2 separate regions of the Homo sapiens genome follow, and region 2 is linked to region 1. The links are contacts of gene promoters, found by promoter capture Hi-C in blood cells and fetal thymus (Javierre and others, 2016). All regions are on one chromosome and are shown on one strand. Each heading gives the region's core, a stretch centred on a gene start or on the middle of the fragment in contact. The rest is flanking DNA. Distances are from core to core; before and after follow the strand shown.

Region 1 (4,603 bases), core at 140-2,639:
CACATTGTCCAGCCCTCAGGAAATGTTTACGCCCTGTCCCCAAATCACCTATCTTAACTCCTCTATCCTTTTTAGCCCAAAAGCGTGCCATGTGATGGCCAGGTTATGAGTCACCATAAATATATATTAAACAGTCCAAAATAAACCTTGTTGAACAGAAGTAATCACACCAAAGACATGGATTCTTCTTTTAATAAAAGTTAATCCTAACTAACCAAAAAATCACAGAAATGCCAGATAAAACACTTAATCATTTCCACGGGAGGAGGTGGGGCAAGCAAAAATAAAAGCAGCACTGGGGTGCACATCTCCATTCTGGGCTGTCCAGAGGCCAAAGCACATGCAAAGTCTTGGAGAGATAAGGCAGAAAGGGGACGGAATACCGAAGCCACCCTGTGTGTGTGATGCCCTTATGTCTGAATGTGAAGGGAGCAAGGACGGGTACATCCAGAGCTACGAATAACCTTGAGTTTTGGAGACTGGGCACTGACAGCTACAACTTGGGACTTCCACTGTAAGTTCCTTGGGAGGAGTGCCTCGGGTTTGTTCTGCTGCATGTGTTCCCTTAGTACCTACACCAGTGCCTTGCTTGCAGAATTAATAATTGCACCCATGTGCTGGTGGAAATACAATGGAAGCACAGACGCTCTCCAAACGACTAATGACTGGAAAGGCCGGGAGCGAAGGGAAGATAAGGCACCAAGAGTGGGTAACCCGAGGGGAGGGGAGGTGTACGTCCAGGGGCTTTTCACTTTCGTGACAGTGGGCTCCGACCCCTGGGCTGTCAATCCGCACAGATGACGAAAAGGGGCCTGGGGCAACCCTGGCTGCGGTGCCGGCTGGCGGTAATGCCGGAGCTGGGACTGTTGGCAGATATGGGGGAGGCAAGGTGAGCGACAGCGCCCCGGAAGCAGTTACCTGTAGTAGCTCAGGAGCCCGTTGCTCAGCACGAACCATCGCCGCTGGTAGCCTTTGATATAATTGGTCCATTTGAAGAGCCAGCCCTCTCGAGCCGAGCCCGAACCCCCAGCGCCCGAGCCGCCCGAGCCCCCAGTCGGCGGCGCAGGGGCCGGGCCAGCCGCCGCCACTCCCCCGGCCCCCGGGCCCGGGCCTCCCGCCGCCGCCGCGACCACCGTCCCTGACGCGGCCCCGGAGCCTGGCCCCGCATCTCCGCGGCCGCCGCCTCCTCCCACCACTGGGGGACCGGCGCCGCCGCCGCCAAGTGCTGCAATGGCTGCCGGGCCTGGCCCCACCACTCCTCTCAGCTCCGTCGCCGCCATGAGCCGCCGCCGCCTGGAGATACAAGACCGGAACCGCCTACGAGAGCCGCCGTCGCCGCCCGGAGCGCCCCACACGGCTACCGCATCAGCCACCGCCGCGCAGCGTCCCCGCCCCGCCCGGCCAGCCGCGGGGAGGAGGGCTCGGCCGCCGGGAAGAAGGACGTCGATTGGTGCCGCTGAGTGTCACTTGAGGAAGACCCCGCGGATATTGGCATTTCTCTCGGGCCTGTCATTCTACAGCGCCCAGTGAGAGCCTGGGGTGGGACGCGTCCGCCAGACCCACCTTTGATTGGTTCAGATAAAGGCCAATCAGACTTTTGGGGAAGCTCATTGGTGCTTTCCTGAAGTTTCCAGCGCTCAGGGAGGACGGGAGAATGCGGAATGCCCGGCCAATCTGATCGCCGATTGGCTGCTGTTTCCGCCATTCATTTCAGTTTATGCGCCTGTCACTGCCACGTCACCCCCTCCCATCGCTCTTCTCATCATCCTTTTCCGCCCTCATGGATTGGTGGTTGGTATCAGCTGCTCCACCTTTTCTACCATTTACTGAACGAGTTGAGGAAAAAGGGAAGGAGTCTCGTCTTTACATCCTTATTTTCTTTTTTTATTGGTTGGCACCTATGCCACTCACGTGGTGGAGAGGCGGGGCAATAGTTGGAGATGATTGGTTCTGAGAATTGGCTGTGAAAGCGGCATTGCTGACCAGTGAGAGAGACCTAATGAGGAGCAGGCCGGGGCAACCAATGAAATCGGAGAAGAGCGCTTGGGGGCGTGTCCGCCTGCTTTCAGCCTTTGGCAAGTTGGTGGGAGGTGAAAGTGACTTGGCCTCTTAAAAGCGTTTTTTTCACGTGGGTGTGATGTCGTGTTCCGTTTTTCTGAATAAGAACTTCGTAGCTTCTTGTTAGGAAGAACCTGGAGGACAGAGTAACTCTCGGCAGTCAGCCCCCGCCTGAGGCTCTCTTGAAGGACCCCCTTCTAACTCGAAGCTGGATACCCAGATTCCAGGGGTGCCCAGAAGTAGCTTTTCCAGCCCCTTCCTGGATCCATGGTCCCCCTAGTTCCCTTCCCTGTTTGCTCTTTATCGCTCCACACCCCTTGTGTCTTGATTCTAGACTGTCATATGCCTATACCGATTCTGTCCCCTTCAGAAGTAGATTCGCGAGGACCTGACTTTATGTGTCTCTTCCAGACCTAAAGGCCCTTGGTTTTAGCATCATAGGTGCCATGTATATGCTTAACTTTGAACAGAAAATTATTATTTTTTGTATCTTTAAACTGATATATCGTAGTTGTACATATTTAACTTTGGACAGAAAATTTTTTTTATATCTTTAAACTGATATAGTTGTACATATTTTCAGGGATACATCTGATATTGTGATACATGTATTCAATGTATAATTATCAAATCAGTGTAATTGGGATATCCATCATCTCAAACATTATCTTTGTGTTGGGAACATTTTCTGCTATGCGTTCTCTTGTAGCAGGAAATCGTTATTTTTGATCAACTGACTATTCACACATTTGTGAAGATTACAAATTCAGTAACTAATGTAACATTTAGATGTAAGCTATTGTTGCAAATGTAACCTAAAGCGCCGTACTTTAGGGAATCTAGCATCTGTTACATTTTGCTAGTTTGAACAGGCAATAGAAATAGCTATTAGATACTGTAAAAGAAATTGACTTTCTTTGCCAATGTGCTTCCCAGTGTCAATAAATTAAAGTATCCTTTTTAAGAAAATCGTTTCAAAAGAAGCGAAGTATTTATTGAATTCTGGAGAGAGAATACTCTTTAAAAATCTGCAATTTTTACTATCAGGGATCATTTGTATAGCTCATTACTAGTGAATTTCTCTGAATGTGTAGAGCAAAATAAAATCTGCTATTAGATGTAGGCTATTTGGGATTAATTTTTTTTTTAACTGAGCTAGAGTTAATCCATTTAGGCTTGAGTCCTGCTTTTGCTACTTACTGGGTCTATTACTTTGAGAAAATTATTTAAGCACTCCAAGTCTCAGTTTTCACTTATGTTAAACAGGAATAAAACCTCACAGGGATGCTGTTGTGATTAAGTGCGTTTGAATGTGTTTGATAAACTGTAGATAGCTACAAACATGTGAGTTGTGTTGCCAAACACATCTCACAGGTTACTTGCCATCACAAAGGAGAAACATACTTTTACAATGGGGAGATCTGGCAGTCCCCACCTTAACCCAGTTATCCAATGTGTATCAGTAACCCTTGGACAACCAACATTTTTATGAAGTTCCCAGTGTGCTGCAGCATAAAGTATACAGCATCACTTAATGGTGTTTTCTTGCCAAAATACTGAAAGTTAATCTAATCAAGGCTTTGGATCTAAACTCCAGTTTACTGGGCTGGAGGAACCAGTTGAACCATAACCCCAAGGAGATAATCAGATAAATCAAGAACGTGAAGCATTCTATAAGACAACTATTTTATAGAAGATAAGACATAAAGATCAAGGAAAATCAATGTCATAAAAATGGTCAGGGGTGATTGTTCTAAATTTGAAAAAAAACTTAAAGAGATACAATCAAATGCTTAATTGGATTCTGGTTCTGAAAAAGCAGGCTTTTAGACATTTTTGAGACAATTGGGGAAATTTGAAAATGGACTGGTATCAGATGTTGTTAGTTATTACATTTGTTCATTGTAATAATGGTATGCTGGACATGGGGGAAAACATCTTTACAACTTGGAGAAACGTAGGAGTGAAGAGTTATGATATCCGTAACTCTCTTTGAAATGGTTCAGCAAAAAAGAAAGATAAGAGACCAGTCTGGGCAACATAAATAAACCTGTCTCTACTAAAAACAAAAGCAAAACAAAACAAAACAAAAAAATTAGCTGGGCATGGAGGCCTGTGCCTGTAGTTCCAGCTACTTGGGAGACTGAGGTGGGAGGACTGATTGAGCCCAGGAGGTCGAGGCTACAGTGAGCTGTGATTGTGCCACTGCACTCCAGCCTGACAGAGTGAGGCCCTATCTCTCTCTCACACACACACACACACACACACACACACACACACACACACAGAGCCAAGGAAAGATAAATACTTTGAAATGCATACATACACATCTGTCTGTCTGTCTACCTCCCTACCTACCTACCTATCAAGCAAATATGGCAAAATCTTAATTGTTAAATCTATGTGGTAAGTATATAGGTGTTTACTGTACTATTATTTCTACTTTTATTGTATATTTGGAATAATAATTTTAAAAAAGGTTTTGAGAGGCTAGTTTGACCTACTGTTGTTACCTAACACTGCCTCCGGAATACAGAACAGAATT
Region 2 (4,837 bases), core at 8-2,507, 2.1 Mb before region 1:
GGTGGTTACAAGAATCTACACAGGTGATAAGATGTCATAGAACTGGCAGGGTGCGGTGGCTCACGCCTGTAATCCCAGCACTGTGGGAGGCCCAGGCGAGCGAATCACAAGGTAGGAGTTCGAGACCAGCCTTGTTGGTGAAACTCCGTCTCTACTAAAAATACAAAAAATTAGCTGGGGGTAGTGGCGGGCACCTGTAACCCCAGCTACTCAGGAGCCTGAGGCAGGAGAATCGTTTGAACCCGGGAGGTGGAGGTTGCAGTGAGCCGAGATCGTGCCACTGCACTCCAGCCCAGGCGACAGAGTGAGACTCCGTCTCAAAAAAAAAAAAAAAGCCAGGCGCGGTGGCTCACACCTGTAATCCCAACACTTTGGGAGGCCGAGGCGGGTGGATCACGAGGTCAGGAGATCGAGACCATCCTGGTTAACATGGTGAAACCCCGTCTCTACTAAAATAAAAAAAATCAGCCGGGTGTGGTGGCATGCGCCTATAGTCCCAGCTACTCAGGAGGGCGAGACAGGAGAATCGCTTGAACCCGGGAGGCGGGAGGCAGAAGTTGCAGTGAGCCGAGATTGTGCCACTGCACTCCAGCTTGGGCGACAGAGCAAGACTCGGTCTAAAAAAAAAAAAGAAAGAAAAAAAAAGTCATAGAACTACTACACACACACATTGTACCAATATAAATTATCTGGCTTTGATATTGAATATAGTTATGTTAGATTTAACCTTTAGTGGAAGTTGGTAAAGGGCGTACAGGACCTCTCTGTACTATTAATGCAACTTCCTGTGAAACTATAATTATTTCTAAATAAAAAGTTTTAAAAATCTCTACAAAAAAGAAAACAAATAAGATTATACAAGTATGAGTAAGAGCTGGCCATAAAGAAAGAAAGAAAAATATTTATATAAAAGATTGTGTAAGTAAAGTACCTAGTCCATGGTAGATGCTCAATAAAAATAAATCATTGTTTTCATTCTTTTTCATTTTTAAACTTTCACTGGGGCAAATTTATTTTTATTTTTACTTAGGATTTTTGAGGCAGGATCTTGCCTTGTCACCCAGGCTTGAGTGCAATGGTATGATCAGTGCTCACTGCAATCGTGAACTCCTTGGCTTAAGCAATCCTCTTACCTCAGCCTCCTAAGTAGCTGGAACTAGAGGCATGAGCCACCATGCCTGGCTAATTTTTTTTTTTAAGAGATAGGGTCTCATCATGTTTCCCAGGCTGGTTTCAAACTCCTGGGCTCAAACAATCCTCCTGTCTTGGCCTCTCAAAGTGCTGGGATTACAGGCATGAGCCACCCCATGCCCAGATGGAATATTTAAAACATACAGAAAAGCAGAGAGAACAGGACATTGAGCTTCCATATATTCATCACCAGGACTTAGGAATTGTTAACATTTGTCCATATTTTCTTCATCTATTTTTATCTCTAACAGATAAAGCCCTTTTATTTATTTATTTTTTCCTTGAGACAGGGTCTCTGTCGCTCAGCCTGGAGTGCAGAGACCCAATCATAGCTCACTGTTAGCTTAAACTCCTGGGCTCAAGCAATCCTCCCATCTCAGCCTCCTGAATAGCTAGGACTACAGGCGCAAGCCACCATGCCTGAGTGGTTTTTAAAATTTTTTGTAGAGATAGGGTCTTGCTATGTTGTCCAGGCTGGTTTCAAACTCCTGGCCTCAAGCGATCCTCCTGCCTCAGCCTCCCAAAGCACTGGCATTACAGGCATGAGTCACTGCACTGGGCCCTGCTTAACAAAAAAAATTTTTTTAAACGGAGTCTCGCTCTGTCACCAGACTGGAGGATAGTGGCACGATCTCCGCTCACTACAGCCTCTGCCTCCCAGGTTCAAGGGATTCTCCTGACTCAGCCTCCCAAGTAGCTGGGACTACAGGCGCATGCCACCACACCCAGCTAATTTTTGTGTTTTTAGTAGAGATGGGGTTTCACCATGTTGGCCAGGATGGTCTCAGTCTCCTGACCTCATGATCCACCTGCCTTGGCCTCCCAAAGTGCTTTATACACCGCGCCCGGCCAACAAATTTTTAAGTGCACAAAATAGTATTGTTAACTATATGTACCATATTGTACACAGATTTCTAGAACTTATTCATCTTGCATAACTGAAATTGTATACCCATTGAACAGCAACTCTCCATCTCCCCAGCTGCTCAGCCTCTGGAAAACCATTGCTCTTATTGATGATGATGCTATTGTTATTATGATTATTTACTATGAGACTGTGTCTTTCCTCTATGTGGAGACCTACAGGTAGGAATCTCCAATGGTCCCAGTTGAATTGCTTCTTGTAGAAGACAGTTTAGATAGCCTCAGACTTTGAAGATATCCTTAGACTCCAGATATGTCATCCAAAGCTACTGATCTCTGTCAACACCATGCTGAAACTCTGGCTCCTCATTCTACCCTGCATTCTACCCCTTCCCAACCTTGCAAAGGTGAGTTGTATATTTGTCATTCATCGTGGGTCAGTATTGTCCTCTTGGGTGGGACCCCAGCCCCAGAAGAAGAGATGCAGAGTTTTCATCTAGAATCACTTCAAGTGGGCCCTGACCACTCATGAGAGGTGCAGAGAATACAAAAACAGAGGTTTCCTGTAACCTCCCTTGTGATGAAATGGCTTACGTCATTCTATTCACTTGAAGAAAAAGCTGGCCCTGGCTTAATCACTGTCTGCACTATTACTGTTTCCCATCACTTCTTCTTACCTCCATGGCTGATACTGTGGTCCAAGCCACCACCATCCTGCACCAGGGTCACTGAGTTTGTCTCCTGACTGCTCTCCCCACTTCTATCCATGCTTCTTCACTTTATTCTCAAAACAGCATCCATCCAGAGTATATCTGCCCAAGATTGGCGAGTTTTTCCACATCTCTCTCTGGCTTGCTGGTTTTTTGTTTAAATTCATTTCTCTTATCCTACTGTCATTAGATATTGAAAAGAGCAAAATACTCTGGGCATGGTGGCTCATGCCTATAATCCCAGCCGGGTTTCAAGTATTACTAGAGCCGGCTGGCAACCATTAATATTGGACTATTTCATGACTAGTACCCAAACCTAGATGCACAGAAAGATCTCTCTTTCAGATCATCCCGGGCAAGACCTCCAAGTTCCTGTCATATTTCTGTTAATTAATTAGTTATTTCATTCAGTATGTATTTATCAAGTACCTAATATGAGCCAGGCAATTCTGCTGGGATCTAGGCATACAGCCATGAGTATGGTAGATAAAATCCCTGCCCTCATGGAGCTTAAAGCCTAGTGAGAGAGTCAGATAATAAGGAAATGAATAAGGTAATTTTAGATTTAGTATTATGAGGACAATAAAAACTGCTGAAATGAGGGAGAGGAATTGAAGGTCATGGAAAACCTCTCTGAGGGAATGAAATTTCAGCTAAGTCCAGAAGAATGAGAGGGAGGCAGTCTTACAAAGAGTAGAAGGAAAAACCAGTCCTGAGTCTGAAAAGGGATGGATTTATTTAAGGAATAGGAAGGAGGCCAGTGTGGCCCAGTGGTGGGGCTTGGGGTAGGAGGACTGGGGGGGATCCCAAGCTTCGTGGGAGTGTCCTCTGCACCCATTCTCCAAAAGTAGTGCCTTTCTTAGATTGTAAAACACACAGAGAAAGTGAAGACTTTTTTTTGAGATGGAGTCTCTGTCACCCAAGCTGGAGTGCAGTGACTTGCTGCAACCTCTGCCTCCCAGGTTCAAGCAGTTCTCGTGCCTCAGCCTCCCAAGTAGCTGAGATTACAGGCATGCGCCACCAAGCCCGGCCAATTTTTGTATTTGTAGTAGAGACAGGGTTTCACCCTGTTGACCATGCTGTTCTTGAACTCCTGGCTTCAAGCAATCCACCCGCCTCGGCTGCCCAAAGTGCTGGGATTACAGGCATGAGCCACCATGCCCAGGCTTGTTTTGTTTTTTTCTTAGCAAAATGTCAGTTCAGTATAAAAATGTGTTCAGAGCCTACTGTGTACCTGTCACTTCAGCTCAAAATAGAACTCAGGAGTTTTGTATTTTCCAGGCTCCGTCCAGTGATCCGTCAGCTTGTCCCATCACTTTTGCCCTCTCTGCCCCTCCCCCTCCAAATCTCTCAGTCAACTGTGAGCCCCAAGACACATCCCCTGTGTTGGCAGCTGCCCTACTCGCCCCCTCCTTAGCCCAGCCTTAAGCAGCTGCTTTTGTCTGAGGACGAGGGAAAGGGGCTATGTAAGGAACGTGGCGGGGTGGGTGTGAAGGGAGCACAAGAGGCCTCGCCTGGGCTCTGGATGAGCAGTGGAGGCCAGGGCCATGCTCTAAATGAGTCCTGAAGATGGTTGTCAAGGTCCCTAGGGTTAGGAGAGTCCACTGGGGAGAAAGATGACCACAGGACGGATGCTGCCAGGCTCAGGGCGGAAGGGACGTGCCGTGATTGAAAGGTGCCACCTGTCAGATCTTCCACGGGAAATCCGAGCCTCCCAGTCTAGGGTAAAGTGTTGTACCAACAGGCCAGTAAACAATGCTCTTCAGGCAGCCCAAGACTCTTGAAGTGGGGGTGGGGTGGAAGAGGGAGAGGAAGGGGGGAGGCGGGACCAAAGAGCTGGGGGCTAGAGGCCACTGGGGCTTAAAGGCAGCCTGGGAGTGAGGCCACTCAGCTGGAGCAAAGAGACAGCTCCCAAGCCACAGGCAGAAGCCCCACAGGTAGGAGAAGCCCTGGCACCCTTTCTAAGGGTCCCTCCCCATCTGCCAATTCTCACTCCCACTGTCCAAGGGCCAGAGCCTCCCAGGAGGGCCCCCCATTTGGAGAAATCCAGGCTCCTTTCTAATTCTCTCCAC

Evidence for each region. Contacts are between HindIII fragments. The CHiCAGO score rates a contact against its expected background, and 5 or more counts as called.
Region 2: a contact is called between a fragment that was not itself captured here and the fragment with the promoter of OSBP in region 1, in 1 of 17 cell types (naive CD8 T cells). The highest score is 5.3, in naive CD8 T cells.

What each region holds. Positions count from the first base shown.
Region 1 is chr11:59,614,385-59,618,987 of GRCh38, forward strand. It overlaps OSBP (oxysterol binding protein), which reads right to left and starts at 1,390. Exons shown (of 14, transcript NM_002556.3): 1 at 919-1,390. The coding sequence starts at 1,280. LOC101927226 (a long non-coding RNA gene) reads left to right here and starts at 1,570. Exons shown (of 3, transcript XR_001748237.2): 1 at 1,570-1,791. RefSeq lists silencers at 1,023-1,242, 1,263-1,562 and an enhancer at 1,763-1,852. The HindIII fragment of the contact is 16,614 bases long and covers 1-4,603 here.
Region 2 is chr11:57,532,941-57,537,777 of GRCh38, forward strand. SMTNL1 (smoothelin like 1) reads left to right here and starts at 4,655. Exons shown (of 8, transcript NM_001105565.3): 1 at 4,655-4,702. The HindIII fragment of the contact is 4,634 bases long and covers 1-3,574 here.